Linked DNA regions of Homo sapiens: all the other regions are linked to region 2. The links are contacts of gene promoters, found by promoter capture Hi-C in blood cells and fetal thymus (Javierre and others, 2016). All regions are on one chromosome and are shown on one strand. Each heading gives the region's core, a stretch centred on a gene start or on the middle of the fragment in contact. The rest is flanking DNA. Distances are from core to core; before and after follow the strand shown.

The links. Contacts are between HindIII fragments. The CHiCAGO score rates a contact against its expected background, and 5 or more counts as called.
Region 1: a fragment that was not itself captured here is called in contact with the fragment with the promoter of PIGK in region 2 in 4 of 17 cell types (total CD8 T cells, total CD4 T cells, non-activated CD4 T cells and 1 more); the score reaches 6.2 in total CD8 T cells.
Region 3: a contact is called between a fragment that was not itself captured here and the fragment with the promoter of PIGK in region 2, in 3 of 17 cell types (total CD4 T cells, non-activated CD4 T cells and naive CD4 T cells). The highest score is 7.5, in total CD4 T cells.

The regions. Positions count from the first base shown.
Region 1 is chr1:77,434,824-77,437,828 of GRCh38, forward strand. The region is part of intron 8 of AK5 (adenylate kinase 5); the gene reads left to right. It overlaps LOC124904202 (a long non-coding RNA gene), which reads right to left and starts at 2,781. Exons shown (of 2, transcript XR_007066178.1): 1 at 2,597-2,781. The HindIII fragment of the contact is 2,272 bases long and covers 438-2,709 here.
Region 2 is chr1:77,217,692-77,220,753 of GRCh38, forward strand. It overlaps PIGK (phosphatidylinositol glycan anchor biosynthesis class K), which reads right to left and starts at 1,739. Exons shown (of 11, transcript NM_005482.3): 1 at 1,619-1,739. The coding sequence starts at 1,711. It overlaps LOC105378808 (a long non-coding RNA gene), which reads left to right and starts at 1,829. Exons shown (of 3, transcript XR_001738109.2): 1 at 1,829-1,962. RefSeq lists an enhancer at 1,423-1,532. The HindIII fragment of the contact is 2,966 bases long and covers 1-2,667 here.
Region 3 is chr1:77,415,912-77,419,322 of GRCh38, forward strand. It overlaps AK5 (adenylate kinase 5), which reads left to right. Exons shown (of 14, transcript NM_174858.3): 8 at 1,728-1,804. Among named protein-coding and RNA genes, the nearest start is that of AK5, 140 kb to the left of the region's middle. The HindIII fragment of the contact is 4,885 bases long and covers 1-3,411 here.

The DNA.
Region 1 (3,005 bases), core at 324-2,823, 220 kb after region 2:
ACAAGAAGAGTGGGTCCAGTGGTATGAGTTTACATCATATCATAGAAGAAGTAAACAAGAAAACTAGTACCTTGAGCAGAGGAATACATGGCTCTTTAAAAAAGTGAAAACATGAAATTGCCTGGTTAGATGGAACAATTCAAACATATCAAGAAAAACCAAGATTGCAGAATCAAGATATACTGGAGGGGAACATTGCTTTTCTAGGGCTTCAAGACAAACATTTGAGCATCAGGTCATAACAGCAGAGCTTGAAGTAGAGAAAAAAGTTTCAGGAGCTGACGAAAAAGTTGAAGGAGCGAGTTATCAACCTAGCCAAGCAAAAAGATGTATCCTCTCAAGGAGGGACAGGAAGAGCAGAAGGCAGTGTTGTATGACCTCAAATCCTGTGCTGCAAGATACAGCAAAAATTGTACTTCTGAGATATGAATCTGAAAAGCTTCAAGAGGAAAACTTTACCTCAAGAAATGAAATTACCATCCTAAATGAAGAACATAGCACTTTTAATTTGAAACTAGGGAAAGTAAATAGACTGTAAAACAGAGGCTGGGCATGGTGGCTCACGCCTGTAATCCCAGCACTTTGGGAGGCTGAAGCCAGGGGATCACAGGGTGAAGAGACCGAGACCATCGTGGCCTACATGGTGAAACCCCATCTCCATTAAAAATATAAAAATTAGCTTGGCATGGTGGCGTACACCTGCAGTCCCAGCTACTCAGGAGGCTGAGGCAGGAGAATCGTTTGAACCCGGAAGGCAGAAGTTGCAGTGAGCCAAGATGGCGCCAGCACTCCAGCCTGGTGACAGAGCAAGACTCTGTCTCAAAAAAAAAAAAAAAAGAAGCTGCAGTTTAGAAGATGGCTGAAATTTTACAGAATTAAAAATCAAAGACTTTCACAAATTTTACTAAGAGCAGATTAGTACTTCAAGAAAACTCTGTTGTTCTAATATAAGAAACCAAAATCTTAGTTTTATATCTTAGTTGTAAATTAAGTTTTAACTTATAAACTAAGTTATGTATATAATCCTTAATCCTTAGAAAGATATACATAATTCCCTTTTATTTATAGCAAACTTGATTACACACACAAAACTCCTTTTATAAAATTCATCCCTCAAAAACCTTTCACGATCTGCACAGACCTTTGATGGCATGCTTAAGCCGTTAGTTTTGTCCTATACATTCGCTTTTTAAAATAACAAGTCACCTTAGGATAAAAATTTACTTTCCTTGTTCCCTTGTTATTTTGAAAAATTATTCACTTCTAACATTCCATGCCAAAAATACATCTTCACACTTAAAACTTTCTTCACATCTCTGTTTCCTACTTACTGGTTCCTTTCTGTCTTGTTTCTATTTCCTTTCTAAATTCGTATTTTGAAACAATCTTTAAATAACCTCTAAATTAGACAAATTTTTCTTTTTCTCAACAAAGAACATATTTTTATCCCTTTCTTATAACTTCTCCTCCCAAAACACATTTTACATTTATTGGTATGCTTTGTATACAGAATTATATATGTTAATTAAAATTCAAACTCTTAGTAACATTAATTTCTAATGAAAGTGTAGGAAGCAAGAAATTTTGAACTGTTCCATATCAGTATTTTATATATAAGAATGATTTTATAATTTTGGAAACATGTTTCCTCATAATTTTAATGTGTATTAATGAACCCAAATATATTTGTTTTTCTATAAAATTTAAGAAGCCAAGAACAAACTTATATTTGTGTTCAGCAATTTGTTTCAATATTTTATCTTATTTTGAAATGACCCAGATACTTAATGAGTATCTGTTACTTAATTTAACATAACTTTAAAATTTTAAGTTATCAAAAAGATTTTTTGAAACTAAGAAGAATTAATTTATAAATGATTATACCATTTACATTCACCTAATTTGTTTATTTTTAACAATTATAACTATATTACTTATGAAAACTAAGATATTAGACAAGGCTAGTAATTATTTCAGGCTAATTCCTTGTTAGCCGTTTTTACAGGCTGTGACTATTAAGCATTCCTCACCCAACTAAGAACCATAAAGTTAAATACTTCAGTATCTTGCCAATAACTCAGAAAATACAGCTGCTTTCATTAAATCAACAATATTAAATTAGTATTACTTATCAAGGAATTACATAAACAAAGATCGTTCTCTTTTTAGGATGGATTCATAGTTCTATGACATTCATGTCAAACACTGACTCCTTAAAATATATCTAACAAAGATAAATGTAAAACTGCCTGACCAGTAAACTCAGGCACAAATCTTTGCTGACAATTCTTAAGACATTTCTGTTTTTATTTTATCAACAATTTTAAAATCAGTTTACTTATCAAACATTTACCCAAGTCAGGTGAACTTAAAAACTTTGAGGTGGCTATTATGTTTTTGATAACATACTTGATTGAAGTGCTTAATTTTTCCCTTTAATTAATTAATTAATTAGCTCTTTGATATATTTTGGTAGAAAAATACATACATGCAACATAAAAACATACAGACAACATGAATACATCGAAGCAGATTCTTTAGCTTTCATTTTGAAATGTTAATCATGAGACAGCAAAACATAGTAATTTAAACTTACCAGTTTATAAAAGGACAGTTGAATCCAAATTATATTTCTGACAAAATGGGACCTGTTCACATGGCTAAATTTTATTTGCCCTGATAGGTGATCTTATGAAGGCTGTGGACCAAAGCTTTGGGTAAAGCAGTTTCCACAGCAGTTTGATTTTTAGAAACCTCTTTTTCTCCTTCAAGTTTTAAACTGGTACAGAGGTTAAATATTCAAACATTTTCATTTTAGATAGCACCAACTAAATTGTGTAGAAAAACAAAATACCCCGGTGGCCTTGAATTCCGGCAATAAATTTATCTTTTTATTTGTTTGTCTGATTTACTTGATTAGTCGATGCAGGCAGGAAAGCATTTTAGAAAAAGGTATTTAAAGGGTTTTTTTTTCCCCTCAGCTTTTCCTGGCTCACATACAGCAG
Region 2 (3,062 bases), core at 489-2,988:
TGAGATATGATGGAATAACAGTACAAACCATACACGGGTTATAGTAAATGAGTGCTGTATCAAGTGTACAAATTACAAGAGTAAAGGCAAAGGTAAGAGATAGGGAAACGTTCTACAGAGGTTATGCCTTTACTGTATCTTAGCACATGAACAGAGGAAACACAATGTATAAAATATTGTAATGTGAAAAAGCACAGCAATTATGTAACTACAAAAAACAGTAATAGTATCCAAGATGAAGCAGTCAAAGTTAGAATAAAGGAGGGAAACAGAACTTCTATTTACTCATATTTATGTTCTCTAAAAATTATGCTATATAAACATCAAATATATAAATTAACAGTAATTCATAAATATATATGAAGTTCATGCTCAATATCTTTTTTTAACTGATAGGGTGTGTATTCAAAAAGTTTGGAGTCCACTGGTCTAAGCTCAAGGTGCCCAGGTGGTGGGGAGAAGAGGTTCCAATATGGAACACTGGAAAAGTAGGCAAGCACCAGGTCATAACGTTTAGACTTTATTCTGTATGCAATTAATAAATATTTAAAAGATTTCATCAGAAGAATAACCTGATCAGGCTTACATTTCGTGTAGACGAATCTAGCACCAAACTCAGGGAGTATGGAGGCCTATGGAAAACAAGATAAAGTAATCGCAAGAGTCTAGACAAGAAGTGATCACAGCCTGAATTAAGTCAGTGGAACTGGAGAGGTGAGGGCAATTTTAAGAACTCAGATCACAAAATTTAGTGATAATTAGAATATGGGATAAAGAGATTAAGACTCTCAGGTTTCTAGCTTAGGAGCAGCACATCTGGTTGAGAAATGGAGGAGAAAAGGGGTGCTTAGTTTTTCAGTGTCTTTTTAAGAGGAGGTAGGATAAGCAGAAGATAAAACTTTGCACACGGATTTTCAAATGTCTCCTGACTATCCCGGATTCTTAGTCAGCTGGATATGCAGGCCTGAAAAAGATACCAGACATCTAGATTGTAGACCGGGACTGAGGAATCATCAGAGTATGGTGAATAGTAAAAGCATTATAGAGCACCAGAACATCCTGTGTCCACGTTTAAAAATGGGAAGCTGGAGGAGCCCAGGATAAAACTAAGCACCCCTTTTCTCTTCCATTTCTTAACCCAGACGTGTTGCCCCTAAGCCAGAAACTTGAGAGTTTTAATAAACACTTATATTTATCCCATGTTCTAATTATCACTAAATTCTATTATCTGGATTCTTAAAATTGCCCTCATCTCTCCAGTTCCGTCTGACTCCTATCAAAACAGAGGGCTGCAGTTGAGTAGTAGGAAAGCAGTTGCTGCACACTGACATTTCACGAGCCTCTTGCTCGTATTTCACCTAAGAACTGCACACATGTAGGAGCAAAGGATCAGGTCCTCCTCTGTCTCCGAGGGTTTGATTATTTCAATTCATCGTTTTAAAACGCTGAAACAGACCAACAGTGTCCTAACCCGTGCCCAGTGATACCCTCCTCAAACCCAGCCTGGGTCAGGGGCTGATTGACTCCAGGAGGCGTCCCTCAGCTACTGTGTATCGGACATCTGCTGGAGGGCTCACAGCCGGCCTCCCGGCTGTGGTCAAATGAGCCTGACTCCTACCTCGATATGACTAGCGGCCACGCTGCCGAAGGACAAGAGCAACACAGTTGCCAAGACAGTCGCAGCCCGGCTGAGGCTGTCGGTGACGGCCATGTTTACCGGCTTCAGACTTCCCGCACCTGAAGGGGCGGAGGCAGTGCCGTAAAGTAGCGCTGCGGGTTTTTGCGACACCATCCGCGCCTCTTCGAGGTGGCCCTCTGGTCCGGCTTTAGAACTCTGCGGTTTTGTGGAGCTCGAGAGTCCGGGACAAGGTAGACGCAGGATATTGACCTTTTTATTTTTAACTGCATTTTCAGTTTGGAGGTTGTAAAATAGGTATAACATTTAAGAAAAAAAATTGAAAGGTGAGTGGAGGGAAAACCCGTAACTCCTTAAACTTTAAAAACTTATTTCTCTGTTCCCTTATTTATTTTATTTATTTATTTATTTATTTATTTATTTATTTTGCCGAGTGCTGCCAATTCTTTGAAAATATGAAGCTGGATGTGGTGGGAAGAACAAGCGTTTTGGCACAAAAAGATGATTAATTGGATAAACTATAAATGGAAAATGTGGGTGGGCGCTGCAATTTAGAGGCTTGGGGTCTACTACCTGGTGAAAGGATTAACATGGGAAGCTAGTTACGTTTTTGTTTCTTGAGTATCTTCTGTAATTATGGAACTAAAGCCTATCTGGAAGAGACACAGCTGGTGTATATGTATGGTCCACCATTCTCTTTATTATGTGAGTTCAGTTTTAATTTATGCATTTCATCTAGTATGACATAAACGTTTCCACGCTGCTTCCTCACAATTTTAACATTTAATGGTGAGATAAAATTCCATCCATTATTGATGCCTCAGCCAAAGTAATTGTCCCTCTGCTGCACAATGCAAAGTTTTTAAGTTTTACTATGAAAATAATATTGTAAAGAGTATCTTTTGTGTGTTTGGCTTTTTAAATCTGTTGAATTATTTTGTTTGTATAATTTTCCTGAACTAGGAATTTGGGGTCAAAATATTCCAAAACATTTTAATAACTATAAATGATGTTGCTTTCCAAAATGAACAAGCTTACAGCACTATCAGAATACACAACACCAAACCATACCATTTTTTTTCCTTTAAATTCTTTGGTATGAAATGTTACCCCTAGGTAACTATACTTATAATTCTTTGGTTACTATCAAGATCTGATGTCTTTCTTGTGTTTCTAAACTATCTCTGTGTCCTCTGATGTAAATTCTTTGTTTATATATTTATGTTTTGCATATGAATTTGAATAATATATTTATAAATAAGTAACATTAGCCTTTGCCATATTTTATGCTATTGCTTTTCCCATTCTCTTGTCTCTCTTTTCCTTTTATTTGTTTCTTTTGCTATTGCACTTTGTGAGAGGTTTCATGCTATTTAGTCAAATTTAGGTTTTCCGTTACGTGAATCCTAGAAAGTAAATACACTGC
Region 3 (3,411 bases), core at 442-2,941, 200 kb after region 2:
CCTCTTTTCTAAAATGAGAAGTGGGATTCTGTGAAACAGACGTTGAAAGTAGTGGCAAAAACCACAATTTCTTTTGCACCAACCTGATAGTTCTAAAATGTCTATTATCTTATAATGGGAAAAATACATATATAGATTTTTTTTTTATTTCTGATACTTACTGCCTCACAACATAAGTGCAAACTGACCTTCAAACTGGGCTTTACGACGGCTGAGTATTTTGGCCCCAAAATACACCTTACAAAATTATTTATTTGAAAAAAATACCAAAAGTACAAAGGTAGAAAAATTATGTATAATCCCACTAATGTTAAAATACATATGTAAATTAAAGTTTCCCACCTCTACCTTCTAATCTCTGTTAATAGTATGGTGGGTAGTCTTGCCAACTCCATTCTAGCAGCCATCTTATGAACAGTGGTCTGGCAAGGGCTGTGCTGACAGCATGACTAGCATCACCCAGGGTTGTTCTGAACACACTTATGCAACTGCAACTCTTCATGGCAACGCTATGATTACTTTTCCAAAATGGTTTGATGGTTTAGTATGTCCATTTTGAAAAACTTTATCATCCTGTAAAAAATGTAAAGATATAAACACAGTAAACACTGGCATTACTGCTTAGAACTTAATCAATTTGGTAATGGCTATTACTTTGTCAAGTTGGTAGACAGCAGGGACAATGATAAGAGAAGAGAAGGGGGAAAAAAGAGAAGAGATGAGAGAAGACTGTGTAAGGACATACCCCGACTCATTTGGAAAGAAAATATGAAAGCAACATCGGGGACAGGTCTATATCTGAGAAGTGTATGAGATGCTTAACATTTTTTACAAATTTATATTCATTATGCATTACTCATTGGATATTCTGACTAAGAATGATTTGCCAAGGCCAAGTTTACAGTGAAACAATGTTTTTTCACAGGATATATAATATTTTATGGGCAGCACTGAATTCAGTCTTTCTGGGTAGTTAGATGATATATATTTCCTAGCAGGAAAGAGTTATTAAATGAGAATGATGAATCAGTTGTGCTTCAGAAGTCCCATTGTAAAAATTACCAGTTTAAGTCTGAGCCTTGGGGATTAATGGGTAACTGATTTAATGAAACCTGTAGTACCTAAGGGAAATAATCTCTCTATTCATACATTAAGTTAACCCGATTTTTCTTACCTTCAGCAACTAAGGTGACCCGAAGGCTTGAGGAAAAACTCGAGTTTTCAGGGAGTACGCAAACTTAGCCCTTCCTGTTTCTGGAAACCCCTTACTCTCCTCCCACTCTGTACTTTGCTCATGGTGTTCCTTCTACTTCCATTATTGTTGCAAATCCTGAAACTGCTCCCCCTCCTGGACAACCTGTATTCACCCTCAAAATTCAGGATCATAGATTAGTACCTCATGAAGAATCTTAACTCCACCATCACCTCTACTACTAATCAGAATTAGTAGCTCACTCTCTTGGGTTGCTGAACCTTTAATAATAACTCTTGTTGACAAATTATTCTTCCTCACAGTATTTTCTTCTTCTTAAGGATGCAGACAGTGTCCAGAGTCTCTGCATTTTGAATCTCCAGCAAAACATTGTACCTGGCAGATGAGAACAGTCTAGAAATGTTTGTGAATTTAATGTGATATAGGAAAATATGGAAACCTAGTGAGAGACTGTTTGCTTTAGAAACATACATAGACAACCTCCATCCACTTATCTTTTCTTTCCTAATCTTAGGTTCAAGTGACCTTGATCCTTCGATGATATTGGACACTGGAGAGATCATTGATACAGGATCTGATTATGAAGATCAGGTAATTAAAATCTGAAAATAGTTCTCTATTTAAATGTTTTTAAGTTGAACCTTTGTAAATGTTTTATGAAAATTTGAATTATAAAAACTCATTTTGTGAAATATATACAGATAACTAATAACATATTACATGATAAATTACAGTAGTCTACAGTTTTCATTCACTAAGTTTGGCTTTTTGGCACTCCCTTGTCCTAAGATTCAAAACACAGTGAATTAAAGAAAGGTTTATCATCAAACGTTAACATGGGATAGAAATGAGGTTCTCTTGCCCAAGAATTTGCCTGTGTCTCTATCCCTTCCCACTAATAAACTAATAATATTTACTGAGCATCAGCTACAGGTTCAGGGCTCTGCTATTTTATCGCTAACTGTATTAGTCCATTTTCAAGCTGCTGATAAAGACATACCCAAGACTGGGCAATTTATAAAAGAAAGAGGTTTAATGGAGAACTCACAGTTTCACATGACTGGGGAGACCTCACAATCATGGCAGAAGACAAGGAGGAGCAAGTCACATCTTACATGGATGGCAGCAGGCAAAGGGAGAACTTGTCCAGGGAAACTCCTGATTTTAAAACCATCGGATCTTGTGAGACCCATTCACTATCACAACAGCACAGAAAAGACCCGCCCCTGTGATTCAGTCATCTCCCACTGGCTCCCTCTCACAACATGTGGGAATTATGGGAGCTACAAGATGAGATTTGGGTGGGGACACAGAGCCAAACCATATCACTAGTCTGTGGAAGGGAATGATGAACGAGGAAAGCATAGCCAAGAAGTTAAATACATTTTCTCTTTGAATAAAACTGAAGACATTTATCTGGGTCATTTTCCTCTCAGCAGAAGAACTCTCTCTGCTGCTATATTTTAATGAACCAAAATAGTTGGCAAATGAGCCAACCCCCTAATTAGGCTTTATTTTTAAAAAAGAAAAATGTCCAAAACTTTCTTCCGCCTCTCATCAGTGCTCCTCAGCAATGGCTAAAAGCCAAGTGAACATGTTCTTGGGGGAGGCTTTGTTCCCATCTTTAACTAATATTCATCACAAATAAAGCAAACAGATCAGACCAGTGTCCATGTGTAATGGCTGGCTGTATATTTCATATACGTATTCAGGAGCTATTTTCTTGAGTATAAAGTTCTTTCCTTATAGCACAAAGCAAGGAGATGATGTTGGCAAGTGCTATAATAGCTACACATGTTTATAGTAATTTTTAACATCTATTAAGCACTTATTACATGCAAAACGTTGTGCCGAGTTTCTTATATTAACTCAGCAATTCTTCACAACATCTCTAGGAAGTAAGAATTATTATCTCTATATCACAGACAAAAAAAAAAAGGACTAGAAGAGTAATTTACCCAAGGTTACATAAATAGTTTCACAATAAGGATGTGAACTTAGGGCACATTCTCTAGCATACCCAAGACTGGGCAATTTACAAAAGAAAGAGGTTGTGCTGCCTCTGCCACAATGTACTGCCTCCCATCCTAACCTCCAAAGACAGGTCATTCAATGATATGTATTGGGAGCCTTTTCAGTTGCTGACCCATAAGACTCCAGCAGAGGCTAATGCAAAACAACCACTTACAATCTAAAAT